Linked DNA regions of Homo sapiens: regions 2, 3 and 4 are each linked to region 1. The links are contacts of gene promoters, found by promoter capture Hi-C in blood cells and fetal thymus (Javierre and others, 2016). All regions are on one chromosome and are shown on one strand. Each heading gives the region's core, a stretch centred on a gene start or on the middle of the fragment in contact. The rest is flanking DNA. Distances are from core to core; before and after follow the strand shown.

Evidence for each region. The method cuts DNA at HindIII sites, captures the fragments that hold promoters and counts their contacts. A CHiCAGO score of 5 or more calls a contact.
Region 2: a contact is called between a fragment that was not itself captured here and the fragment with the promoter of LINC01116 in region 1, in 1 of 17 cell types (fetal thymus). The highest score is 5.1, in fetal thymus.
Region 3: a fragment that was not itself captured here is called in contact with the fragment with the promoter of LINC01116 in region 1 in 1 of 17 cell types (endothelial precursors); the score reaches 6.8 in endothelial precursors.
Region 4: the fragment with the promoter of MTX2 here is called in contact with the fragment with the promoter of LINC01116 in region 1 in 1 of 17 cell types (endothelial precursors); the score reaches 5.0 in endothelial precursors.

What each region holds. Positions count from the first base shown.
Region 1 is chr2:176,634,496-176,639,676 of GRCh38, forward strand. LINC01116 (long intergenic non-protein coding RNA 1116) reads right to left here and starts at 3,114. Exons shown (of 5, transcript NR_188023.1): 1 at 2,967-3,114. It overlaps LINC01117 (long intergenic non-protein coding RNA 1117), which reads left to right and starts at 3,259. Exons shown (of 4, transcript NR_110599.1): 1 at 3,259-3,513; 2 at 4,996-5,078. RefSeq lists a silencer at 3,724-3,773 and an enhancer at 3,934-4,448. The HindIII fragment of the contact is 4,643 bases long and covers 2,220-5,181 here.
Region 2 is chr2:176,197,422-176,202,602 of GRCh38, forward strand. It overlaps the pseudogene RPLP1P4. Among named protein-coding and RNA genes, the nearest start is that of HAGLR, 11 kb to the left of the region's middle. The HindIII fragment of the contact is 509 bases long and covers 2,340-2,848 here.
Region 3 is chr2:176,232,191-176,237,371 of GRCh38, forward strand. No RefSeq gene overlaps it. Among named protein-coding and RNA genes, the nearest start is that of MTX2, 35 kb to the right of the region's middle. The HindIII fragment of the contact is 1,529 bases long and covers 1,558-3,086 here.
Region 4 is chr2:176,267,360-176,272,540 of GRCh38, forward strand. MTX2 (metaxin 2) reads left to right here and starts at 2,083. Exons shown (of 10, transcript NM_006554.5): 1 at 2,083-2,310. The coding sequence starts at 2,271. RefSeq lists enhancers at 1,724-2,351, 2,352-2,977 and a silencer at 1,930-2,019. The HindIII fragment of the contact is 3,129 bases long and covers 285-3,413 here.

The sequences.
Region 1 (5,181 bases), core at 1,864-4,363:
GAAACATGTGTCAATGCTAAATACTTGTCCAACTGGCTTGAAATAAAGGGAGGGCTGGGGGTGGGGATGGTTGAAGGGGGCAGAGAAATGGCATATGCTTTTCTCAAGGCAGGGCCTCTGTCCCCCAGCACTCGAAGAATTACTGAACAAATGTGTTAAGTGGGAAGGAAATGGATGGGTAAAAGCTAACTTCATCTCAGCACAAAAGAAGTTGTCCTTCCATGCTTACATTTTCAAAATGCAAAAATCCAAAAAGCATCGATATTGGAAAATTCTTGGGAAACTGAAAAGCTTAACCATATTCCATAATTTTATTAATTTAAGACCTTCCAAGCAGGGAGGTCAAACTTAACTCTGCTTCCAGCTTACAAAGCACGTCAACTTATTTTGTATGTATAGCTATAAACTGTTTGCAAGTTTCCTCAGTCAGGTACTCGGGATGAATTATGAATGGAATTAGCCAGCCTGACTTGGAATTTCCTCACTTTTACTGGTCTTTAAACAAGATTTTTATACATTCATATGTAATCGATGGAACCAACACATGAAATGGCCCTTCACATAAAACACTCTCTTTTAAAGTGATTTTGCAGTTAAGGAAACCTAAATATGAACTTCTGATGTGGAAAAGGTAGTTTTTATATGCTATTTAGAAACTGATCTGAAAAACTGATGAGCTGACCACAAGATTTCTGTCAGAAACTGAAATTAGGATTATATTTTAAAATACAATTGTAAATGCTTGCTTTCTTTTATAAAACCAATCTGCTTCTCATATTCCTAGCCTTAGTCACACTGAAAATACATAAATTTGGTATTTGGTTATTGAGTTTTGAAGTTGCAAGGCAGGATAATTTAGATATTCATAAATACAGAGCATAAGAAAATCCTTCCTGAGTGCAAAACTATCTTTAAAATAATCATCCAAAGGAGTGAATGCCACACCTCCTGATTTAATTTTGGCTATTAGCTATTCATTCCTTAATATACATTCTTCCACATAAAACTTGCACTGTCTTAAAACTTGCCTACAAACTGGCATGTCCAAATTGTGTGCATAAAAAATAAGATGAAGATCGATGCCAAGTTTTCAAGAAAGAAATGAATTTGGATTGTTTATTACACCAACAAGACACATGTTCAAATTTATCCCCTGTATATAAAAAGATTAGTATAAAATATTTCTCAATTGTTTATGCAGAAAGTAGTAGGGAACAAATTCCAATAATTTTTATCACATAGCTGATATAGCTAAATATTTGGAACCTTTAAAAGAAAAGTGCTAATTAAAATACATATAAATTTTTCAAAGTTTAAAAAGCAGTTGGAAAAATACTTCTACCACTTAGAACACAATTACCTGCACAGCTTAATAGTCTTATGGATTTCAGTAGTAAAATATGTTTAGAAACATCTTGTCTTTTCCATTCCCTCAAACACACAGTGGGCTGAGAATATAACTCTTCATAATATATTAAAAAGTATCCACCATCTTGAGAAAACTATATATTATGGTAATAATTTTTACATCTGATTATGCCATTTTTAGACTATGGAATATAGTTTCTGAATTCTTTTGGGGGGAGGGAAATGGTGTGGAAAAACTACTTTTAAAACGTGCTTCTATCTTCATTTAAAATGTATAAATTCTCAAGTTTCTTAACAAAAAACTTTGATCCCACTATTTTATATAGACTGCATTTATAGGCTTGGAAATCCTGTTCTCTCTATTAAACTCCTTAGACAGGATTATATTAATCTTACTTAAAAGAAAAAACTACTTACAGCAAACATGGCACTCAAAAGAATTAAAAATAATACTTGCAATATTTTAATATTTATGAAAATCTGTTTTTTGAAAGACAGATGAACTTAGAAATGTGAACACACAAAAAAATACAAGTATAAAGTTTCCTTTCGAAACTTTTCCTTTCAAAGAAATATTTATCCCACATTTCTACATGCAAAACTTTTAGTGTAAACTATTGAGAAAATCCTAAATAGTAAAACATTTGTTTCTGTAAGTCCATAAGCACTTGCTGTACATACTCAGAGGCAGCCCTGGCCCACTGTATCCGCAAATGCATCTGCAGGGGGAATGGTTCCAAGCCAGTCACTGAGTGTCATCTGTCCCTTCTCCAGGGGCAGGGACATTGAGTCACAATGAAATTTTATTATTTATATACATTATTTTAAATTCTGTTTTTCTTAGAGCTCAAAGCTTTGACAGTAAATGTCAAACCACACTGAAGTTGACTTGTTAGCTTTTGTAGCTAGCCTTACTGCTGTCGGCTATTTCAAATTGCAAATGACAATAAACAGGTGGTTTTTTCTTTTAATCACTAAAGAACATCCCTTTTCATATAGCTAATATAACAAAAAAGTCTAAAACATGGGCATATAATTCCCACTGTAAATTAATTATAATTATTTCAGGCTTAAGTATTAATAGTAAGTGAATTCTTTTCAAGAGATCCTTGGCGGTTCCATTTGCCCTTGAACATTAACCCTGCCACCTCAAAACTCAATGCCTTTGCACTTAGTCTAGAAAATTAAAAATACAACTCGTCCTCATCCTAGTAACCTGCGCAAGTCTCTACAAGAGACTGGAGGATCTACGTGGTAACTAACTTTAACTTACCTCTTCTAGGCTTTATTAACGAGTTTATCAAAAAATATTAACTTTCAGGCAAGATGTGGCTAATTCTTAAATGCAGCTTAAAACTTTCGACATCCCCTTGTAAAAATGATGCCACGAAATGTGCCACTGTCCATTTATTTCCCATTTCACTTAACGCATTAATATTGACCCTTCGGACAGCAGCGCTGGCATCATTTTGGAGCTGCAAAGCAAGACGTGGCGCGTTGATGAGCTAAAAAGGACCCGTCTTTCTCTGGGCCCCTTACCAACATCTCTCTCCCTAGAAGACAAATACTTTTCAGATCTCGCACCCCTCTTTACAAACCTGAGCGGGGCTTTCGGGGTAAGGGGAGGCAAGACTTTGGTGGGAGCTGCTCGTCTTCAGCAAAGCGAGGGCCGGCTGCAAAGGCGCAGGCTGGCAGTTCGGGTCATTTCCTGCCGATTCCCCATTCCCCTCGGAGCAGCTTGGAGAGGAAGTCGGACTTCTTTTCCAGGCGGAGCCTCCACGATGGGCGTGGGCGCCTCGTGCGTGGGCCGGGGGCCTCGTGCGTGGGCGGGGATCGGGGCCTGGGAAAAACGGGAACCCGGTACCCGCCCGCGCCCTCGCGCGTCGGCCAGGAACCTCGGCCCCATGCGGGCGGGCCAGCGCGGCCAGGAGGGCCGGGAAGAGGGGTCCCCGGGGCCCCGGATGCGCTGAACTCCGGGGAGGGGATGGGCAGGAGAGAGAGCACACTCCTGGAGCCGCGACGTCCAAACCCGGACGCACTTGAACCCGCAGCGAGGCCCGTGGCTCGCGGCCTTCGGAGAGCACCCGCGCCCCGCGCAGACCGGACGCCGGCCTTGCCCGATCCTCGGCATCCTTCGGCGGGGCGGCCAGTCCCAGGGCGCTCGCTGAGGGCCACACCCTGGCCCCAGAGTTTAGCACCGCCGCGGGCAGGGCGCTCCGCTCCCGGACCCCGAATCTGAAAGCGGAGACCAAGGGCTGCCTGCGGCAAAGCTCGACATACACTTGATTTTCTTCCGATTTGGAGAAAATGTCACGGGCGAGAGCAAAAAAAAAAAAAAAAAAAAAAAAAAAAACCCTAACTGTAAATATTATTTGGAGGTGGGCGAGGGCGCGGCGTGCGCGCGGCGGCGGGTGGCGGGCGGCGCGGGCGCCCTTGCGGGGATTCCCGGTCTCTCAGCGCGCCCTAGTGGACGCCCTGCCTTTCGCTGGCTCCCCGTGCTCGTTACAATCTGCAATATATTATTTCTTCCGAAGTATTGACAATGTGTGAGACTCCAGTAACCCCGGAGCTCTCGTCTGTAATCAGCACATTTATCCACATTTAAGGGGGAAAATCCGAATTAAATCCCCGTGACCCTGATTGGGTTACAGTGTCATTTTCCCTGGATCCTCTTTTAAATCCACTCCACACTGCTTCTCTGTCTATTACATGCTAATTTAATTTTACTGTGGAAGATATTTTCAGGATTTGCTGAGGACAGTAAATTTTGTAGTTTATGTTATTTCACTTTTTATGACTTTTTAACACTTAATAAAATTTTATTAGAGCACTTTTGTGTTTACAAGGCCACAAAACTCTTGGCAGGTTGTCAGAAGTCCTTTTTATTATGATCCTACTGATATACTGCGAGTAATGAAATAATCATGTCCAGAAATGTATCAAAGGCCAGAGGGATTATCCCACTTAATAGCTCCACAGATGCGCCCAGAAGAATGTGGACGCGCGACAGGACGGGCTGAAAGGCTGCAGGAGGAAGCAGGCAGCCCCGGCTCCTGGCTTTACCATTTCGGTTGCTTTCCTAAAAGGCTACATGCAGGGTCATGTGACTTTCCGCGGTCTCAATAAAAAAAAAAAAAAAAAAAAAAAAAAAGAATTTATTCTATTGCAAAATGTGCTTTTCTTTTTATACTCCTTGTGTGGGCATTTAAGACTGTTCTAGTGGCAGTGGGGTTGGCTGTACATATCCATGTCAGTCACCGCGCCCGGCCCCACTTTCTTCTCATTTCTAAGTGTACTTTTGTGGCATTTAAACTGCCGATGGTGACTTTGGTGTTGAGCGGTGTTGTTTCCACAGCCCACACTGAAGGCATTGGGAGGGACCCAGGAGGGCACAAGGTGTTTTAAGGCCCTTTCCCACCTGCCAAACACCTTTTGCTGTTGCTTTTTGGTTTTATTTTGTTTTGCGAAACCGGGGAATAGTGACTTAAGGACTCGGCTTTCTGCCTTGTGCCAGAGAGCCACAGTACACTGCTTTTATTTTTATTTTTTGGTAAGACTTGGCTATAGGAAGGACTGAGAATATAGCTTTCATTTCTTTTAAAAAACATTTCCTTTTCTTTTAAATAGATACGTGATCATTTAACACACGGGTGTTAAGTTCATTCTTGCTGCAAAAGAAGGCCATTGTACCTCCTGACCCTGAAAGCAAGGTGGGTGGCTTTGTTTTATAATTAAATTTTCTGTCTTCAGCTTCATATTTCTCTTTCTCTGTTATTTCCTAAAGAGTGTGTCAAAGTGATAAAAGAGGTGAGG
Region 2 (5,181 bases), core at 1,344-3,843, 440 kb before region 1:
TGGTCTCGAACTCCTGACCTCAGGTGATCCACCTGCCTCGGCCTCCCAAAGTGCTGGGATTACAGGCATGAGCCACTATGCCCAGCCAATCCCTTTTATTCTTACAGAATGTAATTTATAATGCATTTTGGTTGTTGTTTGAGGCTTTTTAATATATTGTATTTGTTACTTATTATAGTTGTTGGAGTACCTTATGGCAACAGAACTCCTGGAGAAAGATTGACGAAACCAAATGAGGTCTAGCAGAGGGTTTCTAGAGACAATTAAATGTAGTAGTTACCACAGTGAACCTTGGAAGCAGACAGGCTTGGGCACAAATCCCGGGACAGGTGACTCAGTGTCATTCAGCTTTACATTCCTCCCTTAAAAATGGGAATATTAATGTCTCTACTTCACTGACTTGTGAGGAAGAACAGAGATAATACATGTGGATCATTTAGAACAATGTCTAGTGTAACCTTTGCTAATTATTAAGACAGAATGGGTAATGAGCATTGTGATAGGCATTTGGATGGAAAGACAGGGACTGAAGGAGAGAAATACTTACATATATGACAAATATGTACTGAGTTTCCAGGTGCCATGCACAGACAATTACCAATTAGGATTAAAGAGATACTGGGAAGGGAAGAATCATTGCAGTGAATATGGCTGGAGAGAATAAGTAAAGTCTAGGGTTATTCAATACATTTAGCAAAATACTGGTGGTACATAATAACAGAGGAAAGGAAAATGGCAGCTAATGAATGCTTGATGACTGCAATGGCTGGGCACTCACTAAACTAAGCCCCAAGACCTTAGAAGAAGCCCGGGAGAAATAAAGGATGGAAGAGGTGTCAGGCCATTACCCACTGCTTCTAGTTTACTGGCTTATTCTGAGCACAGAAAACTTAAATCCATCACACTTTTGTTCAGTTTTTTTCTATCCAAAAGGACATGTGAATTCACATACATGGCACTTTAGAGGTCAGGTGCCATAAATTAGAATGCAATGATGATTTACATACATTTCCTACACTGTAGCACCTCCCCAGGGTTGAATTTATCATTCTTTAAAATAGAGAGGTTCAGGTTGTGTTCTGTGGACATCAAAGTGAGAAGAGGAGTGATCAACCACATTAACTCCTGTTGCTGCAGAAAGGAAAAATTCTTCCCTCTACCTACTCTGGCAGTGGGGAATTGTGAATTTTCTCAACTGTGCATAAAACTGTAACTATTTCCGGCCGGGCGCGGTGGCTCACGCCTGTAATCCCAGCACTTTGGGAGGCCGAGGCGGGTGGATCACGAGGTCAAGAGATAGAGACTATCCTGGCCAACATGATGAAACCCCGTTTCTACTAAAAATACAAAAAATTAGCTGGGCTTGGTGGCAGGCGCCTGTAGACCCAGCTACTCGGGAGGCTGAGGCAGGAGAAGGGCGTGAACCCGGGAGGCGGAGCTTGCAGTGAGCTGAGATCACGCCACTGCACTCCAGCCTGGGCGACAGAGTGAGACTCCGTCTCAAAAGCAAACAAACAAACAAAAAACGAAAACCAAACAAACAAAAAAACTCTATTGCCATTGTGGGTCTATAAAAACCTACCCTTAAACTGAAAAAAATAAATAAAAACTTGCTGCAAAAAGGACACGTTGTGGTCTAATTAATGGCTGAAGGACAGTTCTATATAAATAGAAATTATTTTTCCTGATTGCTTATGATCTAATTGTCAAAATAGTGTTAGTATTCAATTGCCTGTATGAGTAATTACTCTATCATATGTAAATGTTTACATCTCCTCTTACATCTGAAACTTGAGTCACATTTTGAATATGTGAAGTGTGTTAGCTTCATATAGGGGGAAAAAAACTACTCGCTTATGAAATAATTGTAGGTCGGGCACCGTGGCTCATGTGTGTAATCCCAGCACTTTGGGAGGCCGAGGCGGGCAGATCATCTGAGGTTGGGAGTTCAAGACCAGCCTGACCAAAATGGAGAAACCCCATCTCTACTAAAAATACAAAAATTAGCCGGGTGTGGTGATGCATGCCTGTAATCCCAGCTACTCAGGAGGCTGAGGCAGGAGAATCATTTGAATCTGGGAGGCGGAGGTTGCGGTGAGCTGAGTTCACGCCATTGCACTCCAGCCTGGGCAACAAGAGTGAAACTCCGTCTCAAAAAAAAAAAAAAAAATTGTAGAAAAGGTAGATTCTATGTGAATATATAAAATGAGCTCCAAATGATGAATTAAAACAACAATATTTCTTATTCAGACAAAAATAGCATACTATTTGTCCCTAAAAATCTTAAAAAGATTTAAAATTTAAACTTCCTTGGGTTAACCTGCCAAGAAAGTCCAATAAGCTTCTGTTTTGACTGCAAATAAAAGCACACATACAACCAGAATAATCTATTTTTCTAGCAGCATATGGTTCCTTTGGGAACTTCAGAAACAACTGTGTTTGTATGCTTCAGAATTGTCACATGGGGAAGCTATCTGAGAATTCTCAAGGCCTGTTTTTATTAAAGGTTTGTAATTTGGGGCTTGGCCCTTGATTTTAAAAAATTTACATATTTTAGAGGACAATGTTATCTCAATTGGTTCCATGTAAACACAAACAATTGCAGCTTAGATATTTTAGTACACCAATGAAATGAATGAACTTTGTTCTGAATGAACTAAGAGGAATAAAGGTATTGCTTTATACCTGTCCCTAATTCAACATGTGTCACAATGACAAAGGTAAGCTAGCTGCAATTCATATGTAAATAAAGACTAAAGGTTTCAGATGTTCTATTTCTGCCTCCTTCCAATTTTAGTTATAAAACATAATTATCATTTGGAACTCAAGATGAATAGATTTAGCTTAAAGCTTTCTCAATTAAGATTATGTAGTATTAGAATTGCTTGTTTATTTATTTATTTACTTTTTTTTTTTTAAATTAGAGACAGAGTCTCACTATGTTGCCTAGGCTGGAGTACAGTGGCTATTCACAGGCACAATTATAGATAACTAACTATAGCCTCTAGCTTCTGGGCTCAAGCCATCCTCCTGCCCCAGCCTCCCCAGTAGCTGGGACTACAGGTGTGTGCCACCATGCCCAACTGATTTATTTGTTATATTTTTAATTTTAGGAACACTTTAATAAAGTTCAACAACACATTTGGATTGCTAAAAAAATCCAAACTTGTAAATATTTTTCTCCCATACTTCTAGAGGGCTCTCTTAGTGAAGAAGAAACAGTTATCTGTTAGTTTCATCTGGTTTCTCTCTCTTATTACGTCTAAGTAAATGTAAATTTAATATTTTTATTTAAAAATAGCATGCATAATATGTATCCAGTTTTATAAAATTATTTCTATGTACCAAGTTATTTATGCACCGATCACTCCTAATATCTGAGTGTCTACATAGAGCTGTCAAGAAAGATGTTCACCTAATATTAATGATGGTTACTTCTTTTTTTTTTTAAGTTCAGCTTTTTATTGAACACGTTATAAAAGAGGTTTAGTCAAAAAGACCAAGGCCCATGTCATCATCAGACTCCTTGGATTCTTCTTTCTTTGCTTCCACTTTCTTCTCCTCAGCTGGAGCAGCAGCAGTGGAGGGGGCAGGACGTCCTGCTGGTGCAGCACCAGCTGCTGGAGCAGGTCCACCAGCCCCTACATTGCAGATGAGGCTCCCAATGTTGACGTTGGCCAGGGCCTTTGCAAACAAGCCAGGCCAAAAAGGTTCAACATTTACACCGGCTGCTTTAATGAGGGCATTGATCTTATCCTCCGTGACTGTCACCTCATCGTCGTGCAGAATGAGGGCCGAGTAGATGCAGGCGAGCTTGGAGACGGAGGCCATGGCACGGGCGAGTGTAGGGCAGGCGCTGCCGGACGCGGTGCTAGTCGCAGGATGAAGTGAGGGCCTTACCCCAACGCGGCCTTAGCTTCCTCGGAAGGACCGAGCAGCTTGGCGGCAGCTGAGGGAAGGGGTCGGTTTCTTCTACATAGTAAGATTTTGTTGACATTTTTTTCTTTGTAGTGATTTTCTGTTTTGCTTAAAATTTAAATAATTAAATTCAGAAATAATAAAGTCATTACTTTCAAATATAAGAAAAAGGGCAAAATTCATCTGGTAGCCACAGTCATTGCATTTATTTTTGCCAGTGGAAGGTCCCAGAGGAATTAGATAATGCTTCTCATGTGCCAATTCTTGAATAATTAAATAAAAATGTCTGTGATATACATGGGTGTACACATGAGTCAAATAAATGATAGATAAGGTCTATCATTCATTTCTTCAACAGGGAATTGAGCATTTGAGTGTCACATATGTTCAATTTTCATCCTACCAGTTGGAAACAAGTTCTGAATTGTGTTGATAAAAGTGGAATTCACGATTAGCAAAGTAATAAGAAAAGTATACCTTTAGCTTAAGTAAAATGGAGAATCCAAGAAATGTGGAAAACTATTCTATCATTTTTCTATACTTATAATACAAAATTAAAGAAATGTTAAAAGCAAGTTTATAAAGATATAGGCACACTTTTTAAAGGATGCATATTTTTAGTAAGCTTTGCAGTTTTCTAGGGAGCAACACTAAAATATTCTTTAATTTTTGTTGTAGCAAGATTTATAAAATTTGATAGTGGTCTGTGTAACATACATACAAACACAAGTCTAATTAAGCCTCAAGAAGGTTAGTAAGGGTTAGGTAACCATACTAAGAAAATGCTAGTCCTTCCATTAGTTTTATTTAGAAGTTGGCTTATTTCACTAGCAACTTGATCACTCGGGGTATGCCTGAGAGGACTTAAAACAGATTTTTTTTTTTTCCAGATGGGGTCTCACTCTGTCGCCCAGGCTGGAGTGGAATGGCGTGATCTTGGCTCACTGCAGTCTTAACCTCCCAGGGTGCAGGTGATCCTCTCATCTCAGCCTCCTTCCTGAGTAGCTGGGACTACAGGCGCGCACCACCACACCCAGCTAATTTTTTGTAGAGATGGGGTTTTGCCATGTTGCCCAGGCTGGTCTCCAACTCTTGGAATCAAGCAATACGCCTGCTTCAGACTCCCCAAATGCTAGAATTACAGGTGTAAGCCACTGCACCTGACTGTCAGATATATTCTTTTTCTAATGGTATTAGGTATCTTCATTTGGCTGAAATTATTTAAATCCTTTGGAGGATCTATTACATAGCTGCCATTGTTTT
Region 3 (5,181 bases), core at 1,072-3,571, 400 kb before region 1:
TAAGTCCTAAACCGTTTTTGTAGACCCAGTCTGGCGTTCCCCCATCTGTCTGAGACTCTCTCTGCTGGTGACTCTATAACTCATTTGTCCATCGAGTTCTCACCTTGTCATTTGGATTGGAAGGACACCAGTAGTCTTCAGGTTATAACTTCAGCATCATCTCCTGGCTCCCCCATTCTAGCAATTCCTTAATGTCATCTCAGGACATGCTCTCCCATGTTCCACTTAGAAGGAGACATGATGCTCCCTCCCATCAGACTTGATACAGGTTTGAGGTGGTACTCAGATGCTCTGTTCCTTAATTCAATTTAATTAATTTATTTATTTTGCTAATTAAACATTGATTTGTGGAAGCTGGTGAAATGGGTAGGACCAGAAACCAATCCAGAGGTGGGCTCAGTGCTGAGTGCTCTAGATAAGCCAAACTCAAAGTCTTAGCAGAATTAGAATATGCATTGACAGAAAACCAATAACTGCTATTTACAGCTATTACTTTAATATTTGTTGCTCTTATATTGTTTAAGTCATTTTTATAACAAAGATGAATTAACTGAACTGTGAAAAACATAATATTCCTTAAGGATTCTCTAGCCAAAGGAGCAATAAATTTCAAGGTAGAGAAAAAAGAATAAGTATTAAGACTGCATTCACCAGCAGGGCGCAGTGGCTCACGCCTGTAATCCCAGCTCTTTGGGAGGCCAAGATGGGCGGATCACGAGGTCAGGAGATCGAGACCATCCTGGCTAACATGGTGAAACTCCGTCTCTACTAAAAATACAAAAAATTAGCCGGGCGTGGTGGCGGGCGCCTGTAGTCCCAGCTACTCAGGAGGCTGAGGCAGGAGAATGGCGCGAACTCGGGAGGCAGAGCTTGCAGTGAGCCAAGATCGCCCCACTGCACTCCAGCCTGGGCGACAGAGCAAGACTCCGTCTCAAAGAAAAAAAAAAAAAGACTGCATTCATCTAGGCAGAATGAACCAGGAATCTATAATAAATTATCAGTTAGAATTAGGTTTAGCTGCAAGTAACAGAGACACAAAAAGTAATATAGTGACTTTAACAAGATGGAGTTGCACTTTTCTTTCATCTAAAAGTCTATAAGTCAGCCGGGCGCCGTGACTAAGCCTATAATCCCAGCACTTTGGGAGGCCCATGTGGTCAGATCACCTGAGGTCAGGAGTTCGAGACCAGCCTGGCCAACATGGTGAAACCCCATGTTGTCTCTACTAAAAATACAAAATTAGCCAAGTGTGGTGGCGCATGCTTGTAGTCCCAGCTACTCAAGAGGCTGAGGCAGGAGAATTGCTTGAACCCTGGAGACAGAGGTTGCAGTAAGCTGAGATCGTGCCACTGCACTCCAGTTTGGGTGACAGAGCAAGACTGCCTCAAAAAAAAAAAAAAAAAGTCTAGAAGTAGGCAGTCTTTGAAATCATCAGGGATTCAAACTTCTGTCTTTTTGTTTTCCTGTCTTTGATGTTCCATCTCATAGTCCAAAGTGGCTGCTAAAGTTCCAGCGATTACATGTGCATTGCAGCTAACAGGAAGGGATATTATATAAAGCTTAGTCATGTGGTGATACCTAGCTGGGAAATGTCTTTATTCCAGGTGACTAAATTTGTTCTGGTGGGGTTTATTCCAGGTTGCTCAGCTAAAAATCAGTATTATTGCAAGGAAGAAGGAAAGAATAAATGTTGGGGAATAGATAAATATGATGTAACTGGGAACTATTGGGAATAAAGTATCCATGAGAATTTAATGAAATCAAGTCTCAAAAAGTTTGTCTTTCCACGTTAAATACATAATTTAAGATATACATTAAACCATTTTCAGGAAGAGTTTTCTAATAAAGCTAAAAGCACCACTCTCAAGAACCTGGTGTCAGAAGCACATCACAATTGATCACTCTTAATGTAGGTGTTAGGAATGAAGAAGAGCGAGTGAATGTTGAAAACAAAGGGCCTCAGAGACTTATGGATAAATGGACTCTGGAAGGATAACAGCAGCCTGCCACGACTTGAGGAATGATTTTGATCATTGTCAGTGGAGTTACTCTGAATCACAGATTTGGGACTTAGGGAGTTTTATTTTAGTCTCATTCTCCTAAACAGCCTTTCTGTACTTGGCTTTAAAAATCAGAGAAAGAAATTTCAGCTCCAAAGGACAATAGTTTTTTTCAAAGGGGCATTTCTTCCTCTAAAATGAGTCAGTTGCAATCCTGACTTGCCATTTCCTGCAGCAATAATATAACCAGTGGTGCTCTAAGTTAACTTAATGGACTTACCTCACTATTAGGGAGTGATTTATGTACCGCAAAGAATAGAGTTCACTTTGTGTGAAGAAAAAAAACAAAACCCAAAGAACTTTCCACATAAACCAGCCCTCACCATCATATTTTGGCCCATTTATTCCCTCTGGAGGATGATTAGACCTAAACCCCTGGCAGGTGGGGACTCTTTTTCACTGGGTGTCCTCAGTGTCTAGCACAGTGGTCCTCATAAAGCTGGCTCTCCAAAAATATTTGTTGAAACAATCTGAAAATGGTTCATAGAGACAATGACAAAAAGCACAAAATAAAAATTAATAACACAGCTTTTTGTTGGTCTTAAATCATTTCTAGTAGCTCTAAGATAAAATGAATTCATAATAAGATGGTACTGATACTGAGAAGTCTTGAGTGTAAAGAAGTGATGAAGGAAAAATATTTATTTGACAACTGCCCTTCAGTGTGAAAAATCCATAGCTGTAAACCACAATGAAGCAAAGAAAACCTAATCTGTAAGAGCTTAAGCATTTTACCATACTAGAGTTCAGGAAACATGTCTATTCCTTTTGCTATTTCTGTTTGCCAGTTCTTCTGCCATTTGCCAAAATAAAGATGTCCCTTCTCCAGCCCAAACTCAGCTGCAAAGGTGAACTAATGACTTTAGAATAGAAGACAGATGCTTCCTGCAGGAGGATTCTGGGGGAAGACAAAGAATGTGTAACCAGTACTGGTTACAGTATTTGTGAGGCCCCGTGCAAAATGAAAACACAGGGCCCTTGTTTTGAAATCTGGGGAAAAGTGCCATTAAAGATACTTAAAGGTAAAGCTTTTTTCTTGCTTCCACAGTCTTTCTCTTGACTTGTCATGGTGTTGTTTGTTATTTAATGCTGGTCTAAGTGAAGAAAAATTAAAAATTTAAATTATTGGCATAATTTTTAAAAACCATTCATCTTTATATTATGGAATGCCAGTTTTAAATGCAAAACTGTATTTAGAACCACTGATATAATATAATTTGTATTTTGTAGCTTGTGCATGCATATGTATTTTGTTCTTACCAGAACACTGGAAATGATGCAAAAAACCTAACAACTGTTTTTTATTCCACTTTTTGATACATGCCTGTTCTACCAACACTCTGTGGAAGCCAGTGGCTCCCATAAAATGTTTATCTATTTGCTTCCGTCTTGCTGATCTCCCATGCTGGGTCCACTGGAATTCTCTGCTCATGGAACATCAGAAGGCTGTATGCAAATGAGGTGGCAAGGAACACCATACAAACATATTGTGCATATTGTTCGTGCACAAAATGTTTCTTTGGGCTTCACTTACAAAACAAGTTTAAGATAACATTATTATGAATTTCAAGATGGTGACCGCAGAGCATTAAACCAACCATGAGACACTTCTGACCGTGGGACTCTGTGACTGTGCACATCATGCACCCTTGAAACCAGCTCTGCATGTCACCAAGGTAAGAGTTGCCTTTCTTCTTCTTCTCTTTTTCAGTAATTTGAAGAATCAGTAATCACTGGAAGAACACAAACAAAATAAGCACATGCCAATGGGGAAGCATTAAAAAACAACTTGGTAATGGATAACTCAAGCCTCAGATGAATCTTGAAATGTGGTAAAAAAAAAAAAAATTAATAGAAAAAAAAAACACTTGTAGTCAATGTTCATTTGAAAGCCATCTTTAATCATGTAGTTCTGTGGAAAATTAGTGGTTAAATTTTTTAAAGAATGAATCGTTTCTGTTTTACTGCTGCAAATCTTACAACTTTTTAAATATGAACGTTAAAACATACAGAAAGGTAATATAAAAGAAATACCCTCATAATTTTAATATATTTTGAAAATTTATTGCATATATCTACCATTTTTATTTTAATTTTTAATTCAGGCTGATAATATAAGAATAAGCAAGATACCAATCTTGTTTTCTTTTCATACCCTAAAATTTTGTATTACTTTGTTGATGTAAGACAGCAACATAATAGCCCCAAAGGAAAATCTATTAAACAATTTCAATTTGAAGGGTTTAAAGAAAGAAACAATGGTAAGTCATTAATGTGTTTTCATTTTAATGTATCTTTTTTATATTAGGGTGAAAAATTCAGTTATATTTTCAAATGATCAATACAAACATAAATAACTATGTTATAATGATATGGATAATCATATGACAAAAGGGCTGTGATTAAGCTGTATGCCTTCTTTGTGAATATAAAAGTATTTCTGCAAAACAAAGATGTATTATATATTAACTAATAATTATTTACAATAAAATTAACCAAAAGCCAGGTCACCCTTGTACTTAATCAATATTCCTTAAAAACAACTTTTTCCAGCACACACACAATTATGCATTGAACATTTCTGAAAGGATACTCAAGAATGTGTTAATTAAGTGATTCCACACCACTGAGAGTGAGACTGACTGGGTGTTCAGAGGAAGAACTTTTACTTTTTGCCTTTTCCTCATCTTCTGTACTGTTTAGGTTTTTTGGTCATGAGCATTTTATTTTAATAATAAAAAATCTGGATAATTTTATAAGTCTAATTTTAGAAGGATAATAAAGTAATCCAGTGACTATGTATAAAATACATAGTATGTATTTGTACATTAAAATAAATACTGTAGTGGATAGCACACATTATACATATGTGTTGCTACAATGCTTTCATTTCAATCTTTAAAAATTTTTTTTAATTAAAAAATTTTTATTGCAAATTGCTAAGTTATAATTGTATATATTTTTTGGGGGTACAAAATGATTTCATGATTAATGAATATAATGTAGAATAATTAAATCAAGCTAATTAACATATTTATCACCTCAAATACCTATCATTTTATGTGGCGAGAACACTTGAAATGCACTCCTAGTGATTTTGGAATGTACAATACATTATTAT
Region 4 (5,181 bases), core at 833-3,332, 370 kb before region 1:
CTTTTCTTTTGATTGATAACAAAGTATCTGGAACAGCTCATTTCTCTTGGTCAATAATACCTATGGGATGAGGAGGAAATTGGATCTCATGTATTCTTTACTATCAGTGTTACCTCTCTCTGCACAAACAAGAAAAACCTATTAATATTATCTTCCCTGTATTTCTACTATTCACAGCTGCTTGTCAACTCTGAATTTCAGCTATAGAGAAGACACTACTTCCTAAGACGCTGCTGTGTTTATGTCAATGTAAATTATTGGGTAAATTTAAATGCTGTTTAAGAAGCTTCCTTTTGCTGAGGGAGATGAAAATATGACTTAACCTTAAAAAAATTATGGGGCTGGGCACAGTGGCTCACGCCTGTAATTCCAGCACTTTGTGAAGCCAAGGCGGGCGGATCATGAGGTCAGGAGTTCGAGACCAGCCTGGCCAACATGGTGAAACCCGGTCTCTACTAAAAATACAAAAATTAGCCGGGCATGGTGGCACGCACCTGTAATCTCAGCTATTTGGGAGGCCAAGGCAGGAGAATCGCTTGAACCTGGAAGGTGGAGGTTGCAGTGGGCCGAGATCACGCCACTGCACTCCAGCCTAGGTGACAGAGCAAGACTCCATCTCAAAAAAAAAAAAAAAAAAAAAGAAAAGAAAAGAAAAGAAATCATGTTAAGATGAGGTCCTGCTGGATTAGGGTGGGGGTCCCTAACACAATGACTGGTGTTATTTCTCAAGAAGAGAGAAATTTGAACACATTGACACACAGGGGGAATGCCGTGTGATGTGGTGGCAGAGATTGGAGTGATGTATCTACAAGCCAAAGTACATGGAAGATTGCCGGCAACCCCCTTCTCTGGAGCCTTGCAAGACAGCATGGCCCTGCTGACACCTTGATTTCAGACTTCTAGCCTCCAGAATTGTGAGAATGAATTTCTGTTGTTTAGCCAACCAGTTTGTGGTAATCTGGCAGCTCTAGGAAACCAACCACGCTAGTTAAGGAGGCAGAATGAACAGTAATAGAGATCTACGGATATAAAGAATGGAAATATAGCTTTCTAAATGTCATGGACAGTAATTCTTAGAATACAGGTTTCCTCTGCAAAAACCTAGTAAGCTGTCTGACTTTTTGATTTACTGTGTGATTTAAAATGAGTTACCTCACCTCTCTGAACTTGTTTCTCATCAGTGAAGGGGGCTTTGGGTTACCAGCTCTGAAGCCTGTCCCACTTGTAATACCACCAATCTGTAATGCATATGATTTTTCTTTAATTGTGTAATTTAAGAAGCTATTAGGTTAAGACAAAGTTACTCAGGGAATTTAGTTTCTCCTCTTCCTGCCCCGTTCACCCCCGAAAGGTGAGAAGTGTGTGAAACTAAAGTATCTTATTCTCCAAGCTGAGCATCATTTCGGGTGTATGGAGTTGAAGGACAAATTACCTTCTGGCTTAGGCGCTGCTCAAGCCTCCTTTCTGCCAAGCATGTTTGAATAAACAACAACAACAAAAAACACTAATGTCTATCCACGGACTAATCAACCCAGCAATATAATGGAATAGAGGGAATTCATGCAGCCTTGAATCTGGTCCTTGGAGGACTGCCTGGGCAGGCAGTTTAAACTCCTTAAGCCTATATTCTTATCCGTAAAATGGCGATAATATTATTACTTTAATGGGTTGTTGAGAAGACGAAGTCAAATAGAATATATGTGTATATATATGTATATATGTGTATATATGTACATGTGTACATATATACGTGTATATATTATATATGTGTGTATGTGTGTGTGTATATATGTATATATGTGTGTGTAGATATAGGTATATAAGTGCCTGGTATCCAGTGGGCGTTTACAAATGTTACTCGGTTACAAAATTCTGGCTTACAGAAAGGACGCTAAAAATCTCCCAGATTCCCCTGCCAGTCCCCTGGGTGGGAGACGAGTCGGGTACTTCGCTTCCACCTGCGGGCCCCCAGCGCAGAGCCTGGAATTGGCTGGACGGAGCTAGCCGCGCCGGCGCCCCGTAGGACGGCGCGGGGGCGGGGCCGGCGGAAGCGCTCGAGTGCCGTTGTCGGCTGCGCCGGAAGTCCCTAGCCAGGCCTGGCGGTAACCTTGGGGGCCTCACTGCAGCCGCCGCTGCTGTTGGAGTGGGCTTTGCGAGTCTGAACGTTGGCGGGGCTAGGCTCGTTAACTGCCGAGAGCCTCCGGGTTTGCGGTGGAGGACGCTGAGGCCCGTGGGGGGCAGGCACCCGGGCGCCGGGCCTCCCAGCCGACATGTCTCTAGTGGCGGAAGCCTTCGTCTCCCAGATTGCAGGTAGCGCGGCTGGCCGCAGACCCAGAAGGTGGCGGCGCGGTCTCGGGGAGCCGCGTGGGGTACAGGGCTGGAGCTTTCCTCCAGCCTTGCGGCATTATACGCTGAACCCGGCCCGGATGGTGGAGGCGGGCACGGACTACCAACCTTATCTCACATATGGGAAAACTGAGAAGGAGACACTTGGCCAAGGTCACCCCGCAGGAGCAGGAGTCCCGTCTCCTTCCCTTGGGCGGTACTTTGTCCCACCTCCCCATTCAGTTGGGAGGTGCTGGAGTATGAGGGGGAGGCCTTGGATTGGGATTGAGGTGGGGGGCGTTACCACAGGGGCAAGCATCTGAACGCTTCAGTCTAAGAGTGGTGGCAGTTTCTGGGTCTTGGTACTCAAAAAGTTTAAGGTGACTGTCACTAATCAGTTGTTACCTATTGTTGAGGGAACACCAGACTTCTTGCTTCGTCTCCCAGCGACACAGTAGTGCCATTTGCTAAGACTCTAGGAGTTATTTATTTATTTATTTGTTGAGACGGAGTTTCTCTTTTGTCACCGAGGCTGGAGTGCAGTGGCACAACCTGGGCTCACTGCAACCTCCGCTTCCCGGGTTCAAGCGATTCTCCTGCCTTAGCCTCCCGAGTAGTTGGGATTACAGGCGCCCGCCACCACGCCCGCGCGGATTCATGGAAAATTTTTAAATCTGCATGTACTTTAAAGAAATACTTTTGAGTCGGTGGACTGAACATGACTGATGTATATAGGTTTGTAATTTCTCTTATTGAGGTTTTTATTTATTGTAATGAAAGAAATTAAATATTGTTGAGAAAGTGAGGAGACTAAACATAGGTACTTTGAGATAGAGGCTAATGGAATTAGTCATAACTCCCTAGCAGTGTTTTCAACATGAGTACAGTAATGAAGACAGTCACCACAATAAATAGGTACATTTGAAGTAATAAGATAGTATTTTGGAAATGGGAAGTACAGAATGTGTCATAAAATTTGCCGGAATGTTTTTCACTGCTTTGCGTTTGTGTGAACGTACATTTCTTTTTTTTCCTTCTTCACTTAAAAACATTATTTTTTAGAGGAGAGAAGCTCCTACTAGATTGCAAGCTTCCTGAAAGTAGGGATCAAACTTGTTTTGTTCCCCATTGTATCCATAGTCAGTTGGTGCTCAATAAATATTTGCGACCCAAATCAATGACTAATCTTGAGATTTCAAGCAATGATTATTTCTGCTTTTACCATTTATGTTGAAACAAAATCAGGCTTATATAGTTAGATCAGCGATTTAATTTAGTTTGCTACTATGTTGAAAAAAAAAACTTCACAGTGTATGTTGAGTGGTTCACTGTGTGCATGTGTCCTAATATGTGATTTCTTTTAATGAGAAAATGATGAATGTCTTTTAATAAACTTTGGATACTGCTTTAAGTAGTGACGTTTAAAAATTTCTAGGCATTTTGTCTGTCTGCCGTCTTAGCTATTTGTAGTGATCTGTTACTCTAGGAGGAAGCATTTAAAAATGGATAATTCAATAAATGGTGTTGGAACAACTACTAAGTCATTACACCACATGAATAAATTCCAGATTGATTAAAGATCTAAATATAAAACAACAAAATTGTAATAAAATAATTAGAGGAAAACATAGATTATTTTAATAATCCTTGGATAGCAGAAGAGGCCTAAGCAAAACTTAAGAATTCATAATCCATAAGAGAAGAAATTGGCAGATTTGATTGCCGAAAAAATTTTAAAACTTTGATAAAAGACATCTCAAGTTAGTACAAATAAGAAGACAAACCAACAGAATCAAGGACAAAGGATTGGAACAGGCATTTCACAAAAGGGTGAAATATAGATGGACAGTGAACAGATGAAAAGATGTTCTCTGTCCCTAATAATGTATAGCATCCTCCCACCCCTGCCATCAGATGGACAAAAGTGAATATGATTTCTAGTACTAATAGGGCATGGGGAAAAGTTACTCTCAAACTATTGGGTCTGTAAGTTAGTATTACTTTTTGGGAACGTAATGTAGCAATATTTATTAAAATGACATTCTCTGGCCTGAAAATTCTACTTATGGGGGTTTATCTGATAGAAATGTAAAGACCAGTACTTAAAGAAATACACAATGATATTAATTGCAGCATTATTTGTAATAGCGAAAAACTAGAAATGTTTTAAATATATGTCAAATTATTGTACACCAATCCACCAATTCCACTTCTGGGCATGTATCCAAAGGAATTGAAATTGTCTAAGAGGTATGTGCAGTCCCATGTTCATTGCAGCAGTATTCACAATAGCCAAGATATGGAAGCAACCCAGGTGTTTATCAGTGGATGAATGGATAAAGAAAATGTATATAAGATACAATGGAATACTATTCAGCCTTAAAAAAGAAGGAAACCCTATCATTTGTGATAAAATGGATGGATCTGGAGGACATTATGCTAAATGAAATAAGCTAGACATAGAAAGACAAGTAGTGATCTAAAATCTAATCTTTTTGGGGAAATCTAAGAAAGTTGATCTCCTAGAAACAGAATAGAAAGGTGGTTACCAGAGGCTGAGGGGGACAGAGGTGAGAGATGGGGAAGAGGAATGGAGAAGAGATGTTGATCAAAGGGAACAAAGTTTGTTAGACTAGAAGAAAAAGTTTTAGTGATCTATTGCACTGCAAGGTGACCACAGTTAATAATAATGTATTATATATTTCAAAATTGCTAAAGGCTTAGATTTATAATTTTCTTACAAAAATTTAAGTTGGTGCGGTGATGGATATATTAATTACCTTGATTTATTCTTTCTATTCTTTGATTTATTTAGTTCAAAATATCACGTTGTACCTCCTAAATGTACAGTTATTA